Regions from separate parts of the Homo sapiens genome. Here regions 1, 3, 4 and 5 are each linked to region 2. The links are contacts of gene promoters, found by promoter capture Hi-C in blood cells and fetal thymus (Javierre and others, 2016). All regions are on one chromosome and are shown on one strand. Each heading gives the region's core, a stretch centred on a gene start or on the middle of the fragment in contact. The rest is flanking DNA. Distances are from core to core; before and after follow the strand shown. Region 1 overlaps PIKFYVE (phosphoinositide kinase, FYVE-type zinc finger containing). Region 2 holds the start of METTL21A (methyltransferase 21A, HSPA lysine). Region 3 overlaps PIKFYVE (phosphoinositide kinase, FYVE-type zinc finger containing). Region 4 overlaps DYTN (dystrotelin). Region 5 overlaps FASTKD2 (FAST kinase domains 2).

Region 1 (3,576 bases), core at 1,053-3,552, 690 kb after region 2:
AGCATTCAGAGTGTGTTCAGTTAATGTCTAGCAAAAATTTGGCAGTGTTTGATATAATTTTTGAAAAACAAAAACACTTATTTGGAACTAATACAAATACTGATGAGTTTTATCTTTATTCCTGCCAATGTCACTTCTGTATTAATTTGTTTTATAGCTTATATTCTGAAATTTGAAAAAAGTTTATATTGTTTTATCAGGTGGGTTCTGTATGAACTGCTTTGTGCATAGGCAAAGTGATTATTTGTTAAATCATCAAGTTACATGTGAAAAGAACTGTAATCTTTTAGGATGGTCGTACAAGTATCTGAAGATTTAATTTTCATAAACCGGTTGGTTTTGGTAAGAGAAAAACATTTCTCTATCTGACATTTGAATTAAGGAGAATTGTTTTCACGGCTCTATTGTGTTATTAATGCAAGTCTGCTTAAGTTTAGTATGAAGTGCATAGAACAAGTATAAAGAGGCATTTTTACCCAAAGCTTTCTTGAATTTGCCGGGCAGTGATGGGTTTAGTATGAGTAATATTTTGTGTGTGGGCGTATTCTCTATATAATTATGCTGACATGTTATAGTCATATGTCTCTACTTTTGTTCCTCCTCTCTGTTGTCTCCCTGGTATGCAGAGTATTTGATTTCTGACACTGGAGGACAACAGCTCTCAATAAGTGACGCTTTCATCAAAGGTAATTTTATAAAAAGCTGTATGTGGAATGGTGTCTCTTTTTTTCATGAGGATATACTTAGGGCTTAGCACATTGATTAGCACAGAGAAGGTGCTGAAAATATATTTGATTATGGTGGTATCATGGGAACACAGTTTTTAATATATATAATGATTTAGAGAATGTTGAGAACCAAGAATGTAAACTTGGACTTGGTTTGCGAGAAGGAGGTCTCTGATGTGAAAAGTAATTGTTTAAAAACTTTTAAGTAGAATTTGAACTTAATTCTTTTAAAGACATAGTTTACACTTAACTGTATTGTGAATATAATATTAAGTATTGATATAAATATCATCAAGGATTGTCAAATTTGTCAAAAAGCCCACAGGCAGATCTCCAGTTAAGGATGCTGCTTGCCCTGTGGAGTGAGGAAGAGAAGCAGGCAGTAGAGGTTAAAGAACTAACTCTGATGATAAATTTCTTTTGGACACAAAAGGAGATTAGCCTTCTCCTATTCCTTCCCTACTTAGCTTAGCTTAGCTTCCTAGAGTAAAGACATTCTTAGTCCATAGTACTCCACTGGTTAGGCCTCAGATAATGGGAGAAAATTTCTCTTCCTTCTTGGCTCCCACGGTTTCAGATCAAAGAGAGAAGGCAAGCGGGTACAAGGAGCCACTGCAGCTTATCTGATAGCTTGGCAGTGCTTCTAAATTCATCTCCAAGCATCTGGTTCGGCTAGAAGTTTACAGAGTGGCCCTTTATGTAATTGAAATGTGCAATTCTTGTACTTCACATGTCATGGACATATACTTTACTGTGTAATCTGCTGGGCTGTTTGGTGGAAGTTTTTTTGTTTGTTTGTTTTGCTTTTAAGAGGGGACAGGTTAGAGAATTTTTGTAAGCATTTCCCACTTCTTTTCTTTCCACTTATTTGGTCAGATTATTCAACAGTTATTTAGTGAACATATTTTTTTGTTAAGCATTTATTATTTATTTTTTGTCTTATCTATTTTCATTCATCCTTTAAAAAATTTAAAGATTTTACACAAATTCTACATAAATGCTATTTATTATGTTTTAATATTTATGTTTTTGAGTCTGTCTTGCTAAAATTTTGTTAAAAAACCCCTGTGCCAATATTGAAAGAGAAACACTATTGAGGATTGTCTGAATAGACTTTCTACACTGTCATCTGTTGTTTTGTGATATCTGAGCTGAGCTTCTTTCTTGAAAATTCATCACTCTCGCTATCATGTGTTCTTTTGCCAGCATTCAGATTTCTGTTGAATGCAGTTTTCAGTTTGTGATTTTTTTTTTTTTTTTTTTGAGATGGAGTCTCGCTCTGTCACTCAGGTTGGAGTGCAGTGGTGCGATCTTGGCTCACTGCAATCTCTGCCTCCTAGGTTCAAGTGATTCTCCTGCCTCAGCCTCCCTTGTAGCTGGGATTACAGGCGTGTGCCAACACGCCCAGCTAATTTTTGTGTTTTTAGCAGAGATGGAGTTTCGCCATGTTGGCCAGGCTGGTCTCGAACTCCTGACCTCAGGTGATCTGCCCACCTCGGCCTCCCAAAGTGTTGGAATTACAGGCGTGAGCTACCACGCGCGGCCCAGTTTGTGATTTTAAAGGGGAAATTAACACCCTCGTTTTTAAAAATTAAAAGGAGAAGCAAAAGTTTCATTTTATTTGCTTTTCAGAAGCTGTGCTTATAATTATTGGCTTGAGAGTCTTAGTTACGTACATTTGATTTTCACAGTTCTGTTTCTGATTTTGGCTGTTGCCAATTACTGCTCTTCTTAATTCTTGCATTTCTGTATTTTTAGTGTATTTTATGTATTTGTAAGTATTTTCTTATGCATTTTATTTATATGTTTATTACATGTTCTTGCCTTTTTACACCAATAATTTATGTTGGCTAACTTAAAACATTTATAAAGACAAAGGGCAATTTCTAAATATATGAGTAGATGGTATAAAACAGGACAATGAAGTAATAACTTCTTATTTTATATTGTACTTAGAATCCTTATTTAATCGCCGAGTAGAGGAAAAATCCAAAGAGCTGCCTTTCACACCTTTGGGCTGGCATCATAACAACCTGGAGCTCCTGAGGGAGGAGAATGGGGAGAAACAAGCCATGGAGAGGTTGCTGTAAGGCAATGAAATTTTTAATTTTAATTTTTCACTTTTATTATCTTCAGTGACTTGATAAGCATATGCATCATTCCTCTTAAAAAGGGAGGTCTTTTTCTTTTTCCTTAGAAAGTAAAAAAATACTAAGGTTACTTAGGAAATACAGTCTATTTTGACTTGTGATTAAATTTCTTATAAAACCAAGAGCCCCGGCTGGGTGCAGTGGCTCACGCCTGTAATCCCAGCACTTTGGGAGGCTGAGGCGGGAGGATCACAAGCTCAGAAGGTTGAGACCAGCCTGGCCAACATGGTAAAACCCCGTCTCTACTAATAATACAAAAATTAGCCAGGCGTGGTGGCGCTGGCCTGTAATCCCAACTACTCAGAGGCTGAGACAGGAGGATTGCTTGAACTCAAGAGGCGGAGGTTGCAGTGAGCTGAGATCGCGCCACTGCACTCCAACCTAGGCAACAGAGCAAGACTTCGTCTCAGAGAAAAAAAACAAAAACAAAAGCCCCAAACTGTGCTTGTCTGTCCCCATTTTACGTGTTAAAATTTCATTTCAGTCAATTGCAGGGGACTTCTTAGTGGAAGATATTCAGATTTCATTTATATGCAAAATCCTTAAGGTACAGATATAATGAAAGAATGATATTGACCTAGAAAATCTTATCTGTGAGCCGTAATTGAAATGTTTATTTCTTTGTAGGCTGTTTGTTTTATCATCAGAATTATTGTCTCTGGCAGTATTAACTATGCAAACTTCTTTCTTATAATATT
Region 2 (4,008 bases), core at 1,233-3,732:
TTTTTTTTTTTTTTGAGATGTAGTCTCACTCTGTCACCCAGGATGTAGTGCAGTGGTGCAATCCCAGCTCCCTGCAACCTCTGCCTCCCAGGTTCAAGCGATTCTCCTGCCTCAGCCTTCCGAGTAGCTAGGACTACAGGTGTGCGCCACCACGGCTAATTTTTGTATTTTCAGTAGAGATGGAGTTTCGCCATGTTGGCTAGGCTGGTTTCGAACTCTTGACTTCAAGTGATCTGCCCACCTCGGCCTCCCAAACTGCTGGGATTACAGGTGTGAGCCACCACACCAGGCCTATATCTTTATTATTACCAGAGTAACTTCCATGTAGTTACCTGGACTGGATTCCTAGAAGTGGTATTACTACATTAGAATATATTGAGATTTTTATTCCTACGTGTTTAACATCCCTAACAATGTTAAAACTGTCAAACTGTATTTATGCCAATCATGCATTCAACATTAATTGAGTTCCCACTGAGTCCTAGGTGTGGGGCTAGATGCTGAGGGCTCAAGTCAGAACAGGGCAGGGAGAGGAAGAAGTTAAAAAGCAGTTACAATTTTTTAACAATTACAACTATGGAAAACTTAAAGAAAACACATAATCTCCATTTTGGGCTCTGCCACTTTACAATACTCTGTGAAATAAAGAGACTAACTCGGCTGGGCGCTGTGGCTCACGCCTGTAATCCCAGCACTTTGGGAGGCTGAGGCAGGTGGATCACTTGAGGTCAGGAGTTCCAGATCAGCCTGGCCAACATGTCGAAACCCCATCTCTACCAAAAAATACAAAAATTAACCAGGTGTGGTGGCGTGCACCTGTAGCCCCAGTTACTCCAGAGGCTGAGGTGGGAGAATCACTTGAACCCAGGAAGCGGAGGCTGCATTGAGCCAGGATCGCACCACTGCACTCCAGCCTGGGCAACAGAACGAGACTATGTCTCAAAAGAAAAAAAGACTAACTCGTGTCCAAAGCAGTTGGGGGCTTTCCTTCCTATCCTCTCCGACAAGTCATTAACTTTCCTCAGCTTTCATTTACACCTTTAAAATGTAATCTATGTGGAGGGACAAGAGGAGTGACTAAGGGATACGGGTTTGAGAGTGGCAGTGATAGTAAAACTTTTAAAATTGAAGCGGTAATAGTTGCACTACTCTGTGAATATACTGTATTTTTAAAACCGCACTGAATTGTGCACTTTAAATAGGTAAAGTGTATGCTATGTGAATTATATCTCAATAAAGCTGTTCTAAAAAAAATAAAAAATAAAAGCCAGTCTTGCAAGTGTGAACGTTTTCAGAGGTCCCCCAGGGCTTACTTACCGCATCCCAAACCACCGCTGCGACTCCCAGGTGTCTCCAGTCCTGCCGGATCTGGATCGTGTGGTTTGCAAAGGAAAAAGTTGCAAGAGGCTTGTGGAATTTCTGCAACCCAAATTCCGTGGTCTCCTCATAGGGCACGAGGGCCATTCCGCCTGCACCCCGCCCTCTGCTCAGACCTGCCGTGCAAAAGAATCCTGGGTGACGCTCTGGCCAAAAGATACATTATCTGTTCTTAACTAACTCCAAATGCTTTTAAGGTCGTTTACAAGTTCAAAAGAAAAAAAGAAACAGGTGGAGGAAGCCTTTGTCCAATTTCTTTTGCATGGCTCTTCCGAATCTGAGTGAGATTTGGCTCGGAATTTGTGTCAACGGATGTGTTTGGGGAAGAAGAAAAAAAAAGCCCAGAACATTCCAACTTCCGCAGAATACCCTATACACTGCACTGCTACCACTCCGTGAATTCAGAACTACACAAGCGGCGGAAGCGGCGGTGATCGCCCAGGGCCCCAGAGCAGCGCGGAAAGCAGCGCTTCCAACCCAGACCCGGGCGCCCGGACTGCAGCTGCAGCCAGCCGGGCGGCCCGGGTTCTTTCGCTACGGTTTCGCTACCCACCTCCCCTCCTCCATCGGCTGCTTCGATAGTGATAACAATGGGACAGAACCTGCCCTTAGACTGGGTGTTAGCGGTTTGATAAACCAGAAATACATGGTCGCCGCAGTTCCGTCTCCCCGACCCTGGAAGTGAGCGACACTGGGGGCCTCCAAGCGGCTCGCGGGGACAGCGGGGACTCGGAGGCCTCCCCGAACTCCCCCTATAGCTGCCCCCCACTCACCCCTCTCCCGGGACGACCAGTGCGCCCTTCCTGCCCGGGGGCCCCGGAGCTGCGGCAACCCTCCAGGGGTGAGAGGGAGACCAGGCGAGGGGGGTCACAGGGCCTCTTAGGATCCCCAGGCCATACGGGGCGCCGTGAGCTGCCCGGCGGAGCACCCAGGGCTCGCCCAGGCCGGGCTGAGGCGCCGCCACGCCGGTACTTACGGCCCGGGAGGCGGTCCCGCGTGGAGCGCGCGCTCCGCTTTCCCCGCCCCGGGCTGGCTGCGAAAACCGCCGGCCTTAAAGAGCCCGCGACGCGGGGGCGGGCGGCCCCGGCCCGGAGCCACGCATTTCCGGTCTCCCGGCACCCAGCCTCCGGCAGGTGCCCCCGGAGCTCACGGCGAGGGCGGGGCCGGGCCGTGGCGCGGTGGAGGAGTGACGTTGCGGGAGGGGGGACCGGGGCTTTCCCTCGTGCGTCCCCAGGGTACACGGACGACTTAATCCGTTTCCCCCGCCGCCGAGGGAGGCGCTGTGGGGGCGGGAGCAAGAGTGAGATCGGGGTGCCGAACTGCCGCGGGTGCACAGGGAGAGCATGGGGTGCCCTGGGCTCTCCTAGCGGGAGAGAAAAGCCACCCACCTGGCGCTGAATGTGCCTCTCGACCTTTTCTATCATGTGCTCCGCCGCTCTCTGCCTCTGACTTTGTCGCTTGCGCGTTGTGCCTGTTTTTTAAAGGTGGCGCGTTAGCGGATGATGGAGACAGCTCGCTCCGAAGAAGGCATGGTCACTCTAGTCCCCGCGTCTCCACGGTGGGGTCAGAAGCGGCGTAATAGCCCGCTTGGCGGCAATCGAGTGGAAAAGTCACAAAACCCTTTTCAACTAAAGCACAGTGGGGGAAGTGAACACGTGGCGCCCGAGTCCAAGTTTTTAAAGTGGGGCGGGGGTCGGCGGGCTCTGGCTGCAGTCGGAAGCGCGGAGCTCTGGGCGTGCGCTCGGCTCCAGCCCCGGCCCCAGGCGGCGCTGCAGACTCCAGTGCCCCAGTCTCCCTCCTCCCGATGCCAAGACGCACCTGCCCGTGAGGACCCACGCTGGACGTGGAAGGTGCCGAGGGCCTGGTACCCTGGCCGCAGGCCCTGGCAGAGCGCGCGGCTGGAGTGGGTCCATTGAGTGGGACCGTGCGGGGACCGGCATCCTCCCGGGGCAGGCTTCTTTTTCCTCCTGGGGCCCCTCGCCCCACACCGCCCGCTGCGCTCTCAGCGCGGCTGCACGTTAGAACCAGCTGGGGTAAACCTCCCTTACCAGTCCCCCGCCCCAAGAGCTGGCCATGGGAGGGGGCCCGAGCGCTGATTTTTTTGTTTGGTTTTTTGCTTTTGTTTTTGTTTTTGTTTTTGTTTTGAGACGGAGTCTCTCTCTGTCGCCCAGGCTGGAGTGCAAGGGCGCGAACTCGGCTCACTGCAGTCTCCGCCTTCCGGGTTCAAGCGATTCTCCTGCCTCATTCTCCCGTGTAGCTAGGATTACAGGCCTGCGCCAGCACGCCAGCTAATTTTTGTGGGATTTTGTTTGTTTGTTTGAGACGGAGTCTTGCTCTGTCGCCAGGCTGGAGTGCAGTGGCGCGATCTCGGCTCACTGCAGCCTCCACCTCCCGGGTTCAAGCAGTTCTCCTGCCTCAGCCTCCAAAGTAGCTGGAATTACAGGCGCCCGCCGCCACACCCGGCTTTTTTTGTGTTTTTAGTAGAGACGGGGCTTCACCATGTTGGCCAGGCTGGCCTTGAACTCCTGATCTCCGGTGATCCGCTCATCTCAGCCTCCCAAAATGCGGGATTACAGGTGTGAACCACTGCCACCTCCCCCACCCCTACCGCCCGAGCGCTGATTTTTTTTT
Region 3 (3,600 bases), core at 799-3,298, 650 kb after region 2:
GGTATTATGATCAACTTGAACTTTAATATCTCCAGGTGGAGCCTTTACTGTCTAGTTTCCTTACTGTCCTTCTCAAGTCTGCTTGATTATTTGATTCTATCTTGAAGGCATTTGAGCTTCAGAAGCCTGGTGTTATTTGGCCAGTCAAGTTCTTTTCCCTATTAAAAGGGCTGTAATTCTATAATTTACTAGCTTTCCGACCTTAGGAAAGTTATTTAATTTTCTAATGTTCATTTTGCAAGAGAAGCAGCTAAGGCTATTTGCCTAAGGGCATAGAGCTAGACCAGATTTTCTCTCTGGGTTTCTTTCATCTTCAGCCAACATCTGTGATTCTCTTGGTTCCAAGAAGGGTCTCACTCATCCTTTTTCAGCGGATGATGCTATTACTACTTTCTTATATTCCTAATTGGCTAAATGCCAGGGACTTCACAAGTTTTTGCCTGCTGCACGGAAGCACAGCCATTATGTTTCCAGTAGCTTCATCTGTCTTCTTTTTCAATTTGTAGATCATGGGGAGTTGTTTTTTGTTTTGAGACTCAAGTTTAGTTATTCTAATACAGTAGCAACACATCTGAGGTATGTGCTAAAATTAAGATATAACTTTATAGAAAGATAAAAGTTGCCAAAGTTTTCTAAAATAGGTACAATTTTGGTAGTTACTTCAGTGATTACATTATCTTGGGAAATTCTTTGTAAACTTTAGATCCCAACCTCTCATTTCTTTGTAATTCTTTTTTTTCCCTCCCAGCCAAAACAGCACCTATCTAGCAAATGGTGAGTTTGAGGAAGATTCAGAGTGGGGTATTTTCCAGTTTACTTTGCCATAGGTTATCAGTTTGATGGGTTTAAGCTAATAGGATGTTCATCCTTTTTGTCAAAACGTCTTTGCTTCATGCTTAGGTTTTGTAACTGCCAGAAATAGGCAGAAACTTCAGTTGTAATTTTGGTCTAAATTAAGGAAATAATAAGTGACAACTTTGGTGGGCATACCCTATTTTGGCCATGAGGCTGGAATTTGGGCTTATTAGTGATAGATTTGGCTTCAGTATTGCTATGTCAGGTATAAATGATCCTTTCCTATTTGGAGCTGTGGGGTTGGGGAAGTGACAGGGAAGGATAGGATTGGAGTTTTAGCAATTTTCTGGCAGTTTTAATTTGCTTGGACATAGGTCAGGTTTTACCATGGCAAAATTTGCCATCCTGGATGTTGTGAAGTCTGTCAGAATCTTTGAAGGCTGGGCTATTAAACTTCTTTCTGATCATCTTCTGTATGAGACTTTGGATATATGGTCTACAGATATAGACAGAACTGAACTGTTTGATCCTATTGCTTACCTGTTTGACTTTAGAGACCAAGCTAAGTTAACCCTCCTTGATTGCTTTTTCTTCTGCTAAATTTCTAGCATGCATTTATTATAGGTTGGACCAAAGGGCTTAAGGAGTCATTAATGAATTTTGGACCATTTAAGTGATGTTCCCATTCCAGGCCTGAAAACCATCAATGGTCTCAGACAATGCTTGTCTTAGGCAGCCTTGACTCGCTTGTAAAACAGCATTTTACATGAGAAGAAATACTTTCAGTAGCCTCTTACCCTTATAAAGACTTGTTTTAACTCTCAATTCATATAACCGGGTGGGAGAACATAATTATATGCCAACAATAAGAGGCAGTTTCCATCACATATATACCTTGTTGTATATAGATACTAGGGACTGTTAACAAGGTTGCTTTTTTTTTAATCCAACTCAGACACAAGAAGGAAAGCAGAACCTACCTTTGGAGGTCATGACCCTCGTACAGCTGTTCAGCTTCGAAGCCTCAGCACAGTATTAAAACGCCTCAAGGAAATCATGGAGGGGAAAAGCCAGGTACTGTCTAGAGGCTTTGGAAGATTACTTATTAAGCGCTTATGGGGATCATGCCATACCTAATGAAAATGGCTTAATGCCACTGAAAGAAAGCTTAATTAGCGCTTCCTCCAGCTGTGAGCACCCTATTTTTATACATAAGTTCTTAATTTTATTGTAGTCTAATTTATCAGTTTTTTTCCCGTTATCCTTAGTGCTTTTCGCGTTCTGTTTAAGAAGTGTTTATCTAGTTCAGGGCAGTAGATATTCTCCTATGGTTTCTTCAAGAAGCTTTATTATTTCTGTCAAGTATAGGGGTCAGGCTTCCATTTTTCCTCATGGATGTCCAGTTGGATATAGTACCATTGTTTTTGAAAAGACCATCTTTCACTGATTGCATTATAAATTCCACCGTAAGTCCATATATGTGTGAGGGTGTGTCAGGGCTCTCTTTTTCTGTTCCATACCTTTATTTTTTTCTATCCTTGTACCAGTACCCTGTCTAAAATTATTGTAGCATTAAGAATAAGTCTTGATGGCTGGTAATATTAAGTCCTTCAATTTGTTCTTCTTCAAGATTGTCTTGGTTATTTTGACCTTTCGTATTCCCATATGAATTTTTGAATTAGTTTGTTTTCTGCAAAAGAAACCTTTGAGGATTTCATTTGCCATTGCATATTAATAATCAGTATTTTCAAGAAGCCTTCACACATTTTTATTGTTATAGGATAGTGACCTGAAACAATACTGGATGCCAGATAGCCAATGTAAAGAGTGCTATGACTGTAGTGAGAAATTTACAACCTTTAGGCGCAGACACCATTGCCGACTATGTGGGCAGATTTTCTGCAGTCGTTGCTGTAATCAAGAAATCCCTGGAAAATTTATGGGCTATACAGGTAAATGCATTTTATTGCCAGTTTACAATTTTTAAAGGTCATAACTATAAGACACTTATAATACAGGATAGTGTTAAGCCAATTTTCATTTTGGGTTTTATGTGTAAGACATGGGGACACAAAGGTGAGGGAGACAGCTTTGCTTTTAAGAACTTTCCTATTGAATAATACAGTAGATGGGACTTATCATAAATAACTAGAGTAAAAGTGTATTTATTGTAGATGCTAGCAAAAAACTATAGGAACATTAAAATTTATTAGACAAGATCGTTAGAGTAGATTACTAATTTAAATCACTATGAGAGTTTTCATTTTAAAAGGACAGATCTTCCTTGACGTAATTACATGACACTGTGCTTTGGCAGTGAATTGTGTCTTACTCAGATTCCTCCATAAGGAACATAGTCAAATTTCAGCAGTACAGAAAATTTAAGTTATTTCTTGAAACAGAAAAAACTGAACAATGGTATGTTGATTTATACAGTGATTTGGGAGTAGAAGATAGTCAGAAATTACCTGAAAAACAAAACTCCTAACATCTCTCTCATGTTATTTTTGTTATTGTGAAGATCTTTCTGTCTGCTCATTTTTTTTTCCACCTAAACTACTACAGAGTTCAGAATCCCATTATCTGTCACCCAGAACCCCATTAGCTTTTACAACAGCTTTTTTGTTTGAAAATTACTTGTATTTCTTTTTTTTTTTGGTAATAATTTCAACTTTTATTTTAGATTCATGTTTGTTACAGGGGTATATTTAGTGATGCTGAGATTTTGCATATGACTGATCCTGTCACCCAGGTAGTGAGTATGGTATCCAGTAGTTAGTTTTTCAAACCTTGCTCCTCTTCCTC
Region 4 (3,798 bases), core at 781-3,280, 940 kb before region 2:
CTGGGCACGGGGCTCCTGCCATTCAGAACCCTCCCTATAACAAAAGGAGCAAACATTCATTTTTTCCCCTTACATAACTTTGCATTTAAATATATTCCCGGAATATGGCAGCATGAGTTCTTATGACAGTTCTTGAGAGTTCAGAAACACTCCAGCACCAGCCAAATCCCCTTACTCCTATAAGAGCAAGGGACGCTTTTTTCTCAGTTCCCTAAAAATGTTGAAGTTATATTGAAAAATGTTATAAAAAGAACTACAGAAATAGAGTGCGGAAAAAAAAAAAAAAAGCTACACATTTCCAGTGGATGCCACTTTGCATTCTTCCTTGGAGGGTATCTACAAACTTCATAAGCAATGCCACCTGGCCACAGACCCTTTGCTGTGGGGAGTGCTCAGCTACTTTCATTATTAGCGAGTCAGAGAGAAGTTTCCTTTTGCCCCCATGATCTTACTTTCCAGCACAGCTCCAATGGCTGTCACAACAGGTTTTCTGTGCCTTTTTTGGTACAAGAACAGGTAAGTCACAGGAAACGTTTTCTGTGAAATGATCTTGCAAACAGCATTAAGAAATTCTGTTGAATTTCAAAGAAAAGATATGATTAAAGGTGACTTTTGGAAGTAGAAGCCTCGAAGAAATGAGGAGGAAAAATAATTGTAATTTAAGGAGTCCATTTCATTTCTGATACAGAATAATCACAAAAACAAGTATATACTGCTGGCTTTAGTTCCCCATGAACGATAACCAGCAGGATATCCACAAGGCCACCCCTGTTTTCTGTGCTTCCCTCCTCCTGGGCTGAGTCCTGCAGAGCTGCAATAGGAAGTTCTCTGTGACCAGGTGGTTAGCATGAAGACGCATGTCGATGGTGGCCTCAAATTCCACTTTGAAGTTGGTCTTCAGCATGCGGCAGGTAAACAGCCTGGAGAAGACCATGTATATAGGGACAGAGAGGCCCCTACAAATGTCCCCATGGGCATCTGAATATAAGGAAACTCTGTGGCATCATTGGCATAGCTTTTTGCACACCCACAGGTCTCCATGTGCACCAGTTGCAGCCCCATGCCTTTTCACCACCAGCTCTCCTGTAAGCAGCTGCACGATGACACAATTCATTGAGTTGGGGTGTTCTCGAATGAGAAATCTGGGGAGCAAGGCTCTCTCTTTGATATTCTGTAAGGTTGCAGGTATAATCTGTGAAGTCCACAGGACTTGGAGTCAACTTCCCCTCCTGAGGAGCAGAGTGGATGGTAAATTCACCGGCCTTTGTCAAGTCCTTGGTCAACAGAGACTGCCTCATGTCACAGCGTAGTGTATACTGAATGTCTGATAATAAGTCTCATACAGAACTTTGTTACCCCTCACATACAGAAGAAATGCGAAATAAATTTGTTTTGCCATAGGGAAATTTCCCTGGCTTCATCCTTTCTATGGCACTGTTGATAATCTGGATAGGTTTAATGGAATTATAAAAAGCTTCAAAACTGCCCACACTTTTGGCACTGAGCTGGGGGATTGCAATTCCTTCCATTGTCAAAGACACTACTTGATGTGGGACTGAATCCTTACAAGATACGACCACCACACTGGAGAGCATTTCTCCAGCATGAGAAACTATTTGCTCTTCCATCTTGATGTCCAGGGAGGTCCCTGTTTTGAATTCTCCACAGCAGCCAACACTTCTGACCTCACATCAAGTTTTTCTTATCAATTTTTCAGGGACCCTTTTAATAGCATCATTTATCTTATTACCGAAAATATTTTTCTAAGTCTAGGGCTTATTTTTAATTTTGTTTATACTATCATTTACCATAACAAAATGTTTAAAATTACATGCTATCATATATATCTGTCTATTCCTTCATGATTTTTTGTTTTTCTTTCTTCCTTAGGAGATGTTCTTTTTTCTAATATTTATTTTAAATTCTTTTTACATTTAAATTTCAATCAATTTGGAATTTGTTTTAGTATATGGGGCAAAATAAGGGCCAATTTTCCTTTCAGATGGATAGCCAATTATGCATTATTTTTCCATGAATTGAAATATCACCTTTATCATATATTAGGTTCCCATATATGCTTAGATCAATTATTATATTTTGTATTCTCATCCTTAGACCTACATGTTCATTCCCGTTTTATACTATATTATTTGGTCATAGTAGTTTTATAGTAAGTGTTAATATCTGTTGTATTAACATCTGTTCTTCAGATATTAATGTCTCTCACTATTCTTCAGTCTCATAATTTTACTATTCTTGTACAACTATTCTTCCAACATACCTTCAAAATTATTTTATCCTATTTAGAAAACCTTGTGATTCTATCTGGAAATGCATTAAATTTAAATACAGTAGATTATGCTCTATAAGGCTACCATGAACAGTGAATTAGGAAATACTGAACCCATTGTTCCTAGAGAAAATACAGGGTTAGGTTCCTGCAAGCCTCTGGCCACAATATTTTTGTCAACCAATCAATGCACAACCTTGTTTTATGTGTTTCTGTATAAAGATGCTTTTTAAATATATATTGTTGATTCATTAGCATTAAACTCATGGTCAACAGCAATATAAATCATACCTGAATGAAGCTTATTTAACGTGTGTATTTTTTCATTAAGGCACATCGTAGCCTTGCTGTGCTTGGGAACACTAGACAGCAATTCAGTACCGTGCTTTGGGGCCATTTGCCAAAGTAAAATCACCAACAAAAAGCACAAATATAAAAAAACAAGACACAAAATAGACACGAAAAGGACACTTGCTTATAGAATGAGGGCTGAAACAGTAACACAGAGCACTATCTGGTTTGACCTCAGCTGGGAACACGTGCATCAGGCAACTCAAAATTTTTTTGCCACTCTGCTTATGTCTGCAAATACTGAAAAAGCACCAGGAGTGTTAATTTTAGGGTTACAAATAAATTTTTGCAAGTAGGCAAATTTGTAAGTATTGAATCTGCAAATAACAAAAATCAGCTATTAATTTTTGGAGCAGGTACATTCTTATGCTAGTCTTCTCATTTAGAAATTTGGCATTTTTTCCTTTTGTTCAGGACTTGTTTTCTGTACTCAATAAAATATTATAATTTTATTTGGGTCTTGTATCTTTTTTGTTAAACTTTTTTGTAGTTTCTTTTAAAAATAATTTTTACATGTATTTTGAATGAGATTCTTACAAAATTTATAGCTGGTTATTGCTAGTAGAGTGAAGAATTTTGTATATGTTTATTTTATTTTTCCACCATCATTTGAAGCCTATTAATTCTAGTAATTTTTGCTAGTTACTTGGGGTTTCTTAGTAATTCACAATTAAATTAGCTACAAAGAGAAGTAATTCTGTCTGTTATTTTTCTGCAGTTTAATTTTCTTTTTAACTATGTTTTCAAGAACTTCCTGAAATATTTAATAAGAGTGATGATATTTGGCACCTAACTTTCAGTTCTGGTTTTGTAAATGAAAGTATTCTCAGTGCAAACTATCATGTGTAAAGGAAATAAAACCACATCAAAAGGGAGAAGGCTTATTACCATGCAGATAGTTTGCTGAATCATTGAACGAATTCAATATTATCACTTGGCCATAACCATTAATCTCTTAGAAGATGGTCAGTGCTAGTGTGCCAACATAATAGATATCAAAGATGTGTTTTTTACTATTATTACATTGTGATTTAGTAATATTCCACATTCTTTTCTCCTAGATGAGCCACAAATCAGAATTTCTGAACTCATCAAAGTCTAGGGTACACTGAAAATTATTACATAAGAATGTTATTTTGGGGAACAACTCTACTGTA
Region 5 (3,695 bases), core at 1,193-3,692, 850 kb before region 2:
CTGTGCAATCATGAGGGTAAACAATGCATATTGTATTCAATAAATTACTTGAGATATTCAACACTTTTATTATAATATAGGCTTTTTGTTAACTCATTTTGCCCAACTATAGGTGAATGTAAGTGTTCTAAGCGTGTTTAAAGTAGGCTAGGCTAAGCTATGATGTTCAGTAAGTTGGATGTATTAAATGCATTTTGACTTAAAATATTTTCAATTTATGGTGAGTTTGTTGGGATATACCCCACCGTAAGTCAAGGACAATCTGTATACTATTCTATCCTTTGGTCATCTTTCTATTTGAAACAAAAATTTGCTCTTCTTTTTCGTTTTAAAAGGGTTGTATGGGCTGGGCGCGGTGGCTCACGCCTGTAATCCCAGCACTTTGGGAGGCCAAGGTGGGTGGATCACCTGAGGTCAGGAGTTCAAGACCAGCCTGGCCAACATGGTGAAACCCCATCTCTACTAAAAATACAAAAAGTAGCCGGGCATGGTGACGTGTCCCTGTAATCCCAGCTACTAGGGGGGCTGAGGCAGGAGGACCACTTGAACCTGGGAGGTGGAGGTTGCAGTAAGCTGAGATTGTGCCACTGTACTCCAGCCTGGGCAATAAAGATCAAAACTCTGTCTCAAAAAAAAAAAAAAAAAAAAAGGGTTGTATGGTACTTTTGTTAGATATTTAGCATGATTTCCGTGTTTATACTTTGTTCTTGTTAGATTTCAAATAATAAAGATGGGTGATGTGACAGGCTTGGGGTTTTTGAAGAATAAAATGTCACTACTTAATGGTCATGTCCATTGTTTTATCCAGAGTAAAAGCCTTTAAAATCAGGAGCTGTGTTAAGAATATAAACATTTAATGAAGCACCTGGTAAAAACTTCTTTTTGCAATGAAATAGGTGATAACTGTTAGATCTCTAGGTTCAGTTTATTTTGGAGAGTAAGGTAAATATTGAGTTTACTGTGGAAATTGGTTATAGAAAGAGAAGTAATAATCCTAAGTAAGAAAGATTGAGAAGGAAATTGGAGGTGAACTTGAAAGTTTATTTTAATCATAATGTTTCAGTTCCATTTTCACTTATAGGTATGAATATTAAATATAGAAATTTTGGGGTTATGTCTTACATGTTAGAATCTAGGAAGTATTTAAGTTTGGGAATGCGAGAAGTTCAAGATTGAGTTGGTCATTTTGAAAACCTTCAGAAAAGGCATATTTAAAAGTAATTTTCAGATATGTTGTATGAAAAGCATGTAGGAAGAGATTTATTTTTAAATCAGATGGAAACGTAGAAATCATTGTATGCCCTGGTTCTCAGCTTAAAAAAGATTGCTTATTAACTTGATACCCAATTCAAGAATTAATAGAACAGATTTTGTGAGAGAAAGATGATTGTTCCTTTTCATGGAAATATTCTGTTTCAGGATATATTCTGTTGATCAGGACAGTTGAATTGCTGCTTAGATTTTTTGAGATCTAAAAAATTACTATTAGCATACTGTAATTATTATAGAGTTTTCCCTCAATTTTCTCTTTTTAAGGTTCTTTTTATCCTCATTTTATTTGAAAACCTTGGCTTTCGACCTGTTGGTTTAATGGACCTGTTTATGAAGAGAATAGTAGAGGATCCTGAATCCCTAAACATGAAAAACATTCTATCTATTCTTCATACTTACTCTTCTCTCAATCATGTCTACAAATGCCAGAACAAAGAGTATGTACTTGTTTTTTTTTACCTTTTTTATTGCCATATAACTTACAAAAAAGGTTATAAATCATAAGCTTAATGAATTATTACAAGTGAACACACCCATAGTCATCATCCATGCCAATAAATAAAACATAGTGTTCCTTACTCATTTATAAGGTTAAACAAAATTTTGTTTTATATTTGCTGCCCTTTGTCTTGTTTGTTTCTTTGTTCTTTATAATGTATTAGTTAATTCATTATAGGAGTTTGATTTCAAACCCTCCCAGCTTATCCTCGTAGCTCCTAAGTTCATAGTTTATTTTAACTGTATTAAAAAATGGAGAAATCTGTCTTTTAAAAAATTTGACTTTTTTTATTATGGTAAGAACATTTAGTAAATTTTAAAGTGTGCAGTACAATATTGCTGACTTTATTATTAATGATATAGTTAACAATATTGTACAGTGGATCTCTAGGACTTAATCATCTTGCATAACTGAAACTTTATACCTGTTGAATAGCAACTCCCCTATTTCCCCCTTTCCTCACCCCTGACAATCAACATTGTAATCTCTGTTTCTATGACTGACCTTTTTAGATACTTTATATAAGTGGAGTCATGCGGTATTTGTCCTTCTATGACTAGCTTATTTCAGTTAGCATAATGCCCTTCAAGTTGATCCACATTGTAGCATGTGATGAGATTTCCTTCTAAGGCTGAATAATATTCCATTATATGTATATATCACATTTTCTTTATCCATTCATCTGCTGATGGATGTTTAGGTTGTTTCCCTATCTTGGCTATTGCAAACAATGCTGCACTTAACATGGGAGTGCAGATGTCTCTTTGAGATTCTCATTTCAATTCTTATGAATTGAAATATATCCACAAGTGAGATCCCTGGATCATACAGGGATTCTGCTTTTACTAAGGGTTCTACTTTTACCAAATGCCTTTTTTTTTTTTAGCATCAGTTGAAATGATCATATGGTTTTTATCCTTTATTCTGTTGATATGATGTATCATATTGATTGATTTGCATATGTTGAACCATCCTGGCATCCCAGGGATAAATCCTGCTTGGTCATAATGAATAATCTTTCTAATGTATTGTTGAATTTGGTTTGCTAGTATTTTTTTTGAGGATTTTTGCATCAATCTTCATCAGAGATACTGTGCTGTAGTTTTTTTGTTTGTTTTTTGTTTTTTTTGATGTGTCTTTGTCTGATTTTGGTATCAGGGTAATACTGGACTTGTAGAATGAGTTTGGAAGTATTCCCTCCTTCTCTGCTTTTTGGAATAGTTTGAGTAGGATTAGTATTAGTTCTTCCTTAAATGTTTGGTAGAATTCAGCAGTGAAGCAGTTTGGTCCTGGGCTTTTCTTTACTAGGTAGTAGTTCTACTTTTACATTTTTCAAGGAAGCTTCATACTGTTTTCCATGCACCATTTTGTAGTCCTATCAACATTGTGCAAGGGTTCCAATTTCTCCACATCTTCTCCAACACTTGTTAGATTTTGTTTTGTTTTGTTTTTTTGATAATGGCCGTCCTAACAGATGTAAAGTGATATCTCATTGTGGTTTTGATTTGCATTTCCCTGATGATTAGTGATGTTGACCATGTTTTCACATACCTGTTGGCCATTTGTATGTCTTCTTTGGAGAAATATTTAAGTCCTTTGCCTATTTTTAAATCATATTATTATTTTTGCTATTCAGTTACAGTATGTTATAATGTGTAAACATACTACAAATATATATATAATATATATATTATGGGATGCAGAAAAAGCAATCCTGACAAGAAAACTTAAAGCATTAAGTTTTATATAAACTTATAGCAATAAGCATAAATATATGAGTTACAGGAATTCCTTATATATTTTGGATAATAACTGCTTATCATATGTATGGTTTGCAAATATTTTCTCCCATTCTGTAGGTTGCTTTTTCACTTTGTTGACTGTTTCCTTTGCTGTGCAGCTTTTTAGTTTGATATAGTTCTCC

What was found. Contacts are between HindIII fragments. The CHiCAGO score rates a contact against its expected background, and 5 or more counts as called.
Region 1: a fragment that was not itself captured here is called in contact with the fragment with the promoter of METTL21A in region 2 in 2 of 17 cell types (M0 macrophages and M2 macrophages); the score reaches 5.7 in M0 macrophages.
Region 3: a contact is called between a fragment that was not itself captured here and the fragment with the promoter of METTL21A in region 2, in 1 of 17 cell types (total B cells). The highest score is 5.4, in total B cells.
Region 4: a fragment that was not itself captured here is called in contact with the fragment with the promoter of METTL21A in region 2 in 2 of 17 cell types (activated CD4 T cells and naive CD4 T cells); the score reaches 6.3 in activated CD4 T cells.
Region 5: a fragment that was not itself captured here is called in contact with the fragment with the promoter of METTL21A in region 2 in 9 of 17 cell types (activated CD4 T cells, naive B cells, fetal thymus and 6 more); the score reaches 8.1 in activated CD4 T cells.

Annotation. Positions count from the first base shown.
Region 1 is chr2:208,311,610-208,315,185 of GRCh38, forward strand. It overlaps PIKFYVE (phosphoinositide kinase, FYVE-type zinc finger containing), which reads left to right. Exons shown (of 42, transcript NM_015040.4): 13 at 627-686; 14 at 2,685-2,814. Among named protein-coding and RNA genes, the nearest start is that of PIKFYVE, 47 kb to the left of the region's middle. The HindIII fragment of the contact is 3,644 bases long and covers 481-3,576 here.
Region 2 is chr2:207,622,912-207,626,919 of GRCh38, forward strand. METTL21A (methyltransferase 21A, HSPA lysine) reads right to left here and starts at 2,483. Exons shown (of 4, transcript NM_001127395.5): 1 at 2,151-2,483; 2 at 1,318-1,493. The coding sequence starts at 1,464. RefSeq lists a silencer at 2,079-2,678 and enhancers at 2,949-3,653, 3,654-4,008. The HindIII fragment of the contact is 10,824 bases long and covers 1-4,008 here.
Region 3 is chr2:208,274,962-208,278,561 of GRCh38, forward strand. It overlaps PIKFYVE (phosphoinositide kinase, FYVE-type zinc finger containing), which reads left to right. Exons shown (of 42, transcript NM_015040.4): 4 at 1,751-1,869; 5 at 2,576-2,747. Among named protein-coding and RNA genes, the nearest start is that of PIKFYVE, 11 kb to the left of the region's middle. The HindIII fragment of the contact is 177 bases long and covers 1,961-2,137 here.
Region 4 is chr2:206,685,715-206,689,512 of GRCh38, forward strand. All of the region lies in intron 9 of DYTN (dystrotelin), which reads right to left. It also overlaps the pseudogene VPS26CP1. Among named protein-coding and RNA genes, the nearest start is that of DYTN, 31 kb to the right of the region's middle. The HindIII fragment of the contact is 1,117 bases long and covers 1,473-2,589 here.
Region 5 is chr2:206,772,689-206,776,383 of GRCh38, forward strand. It overlaps FASTKD2 (FAST kinase domains 2), which reads left to right. Exons shown (of 12, transcript NM_001136193.2): 7 at 1,537-1,709. Among named protein-coding and RNA genes, the nearest start is that of MIR3130-2, 8.7 kb to the right of the region's middle. The HindIII fragment of the contact is 1,335 bases long and covers 1,776-3,110 here.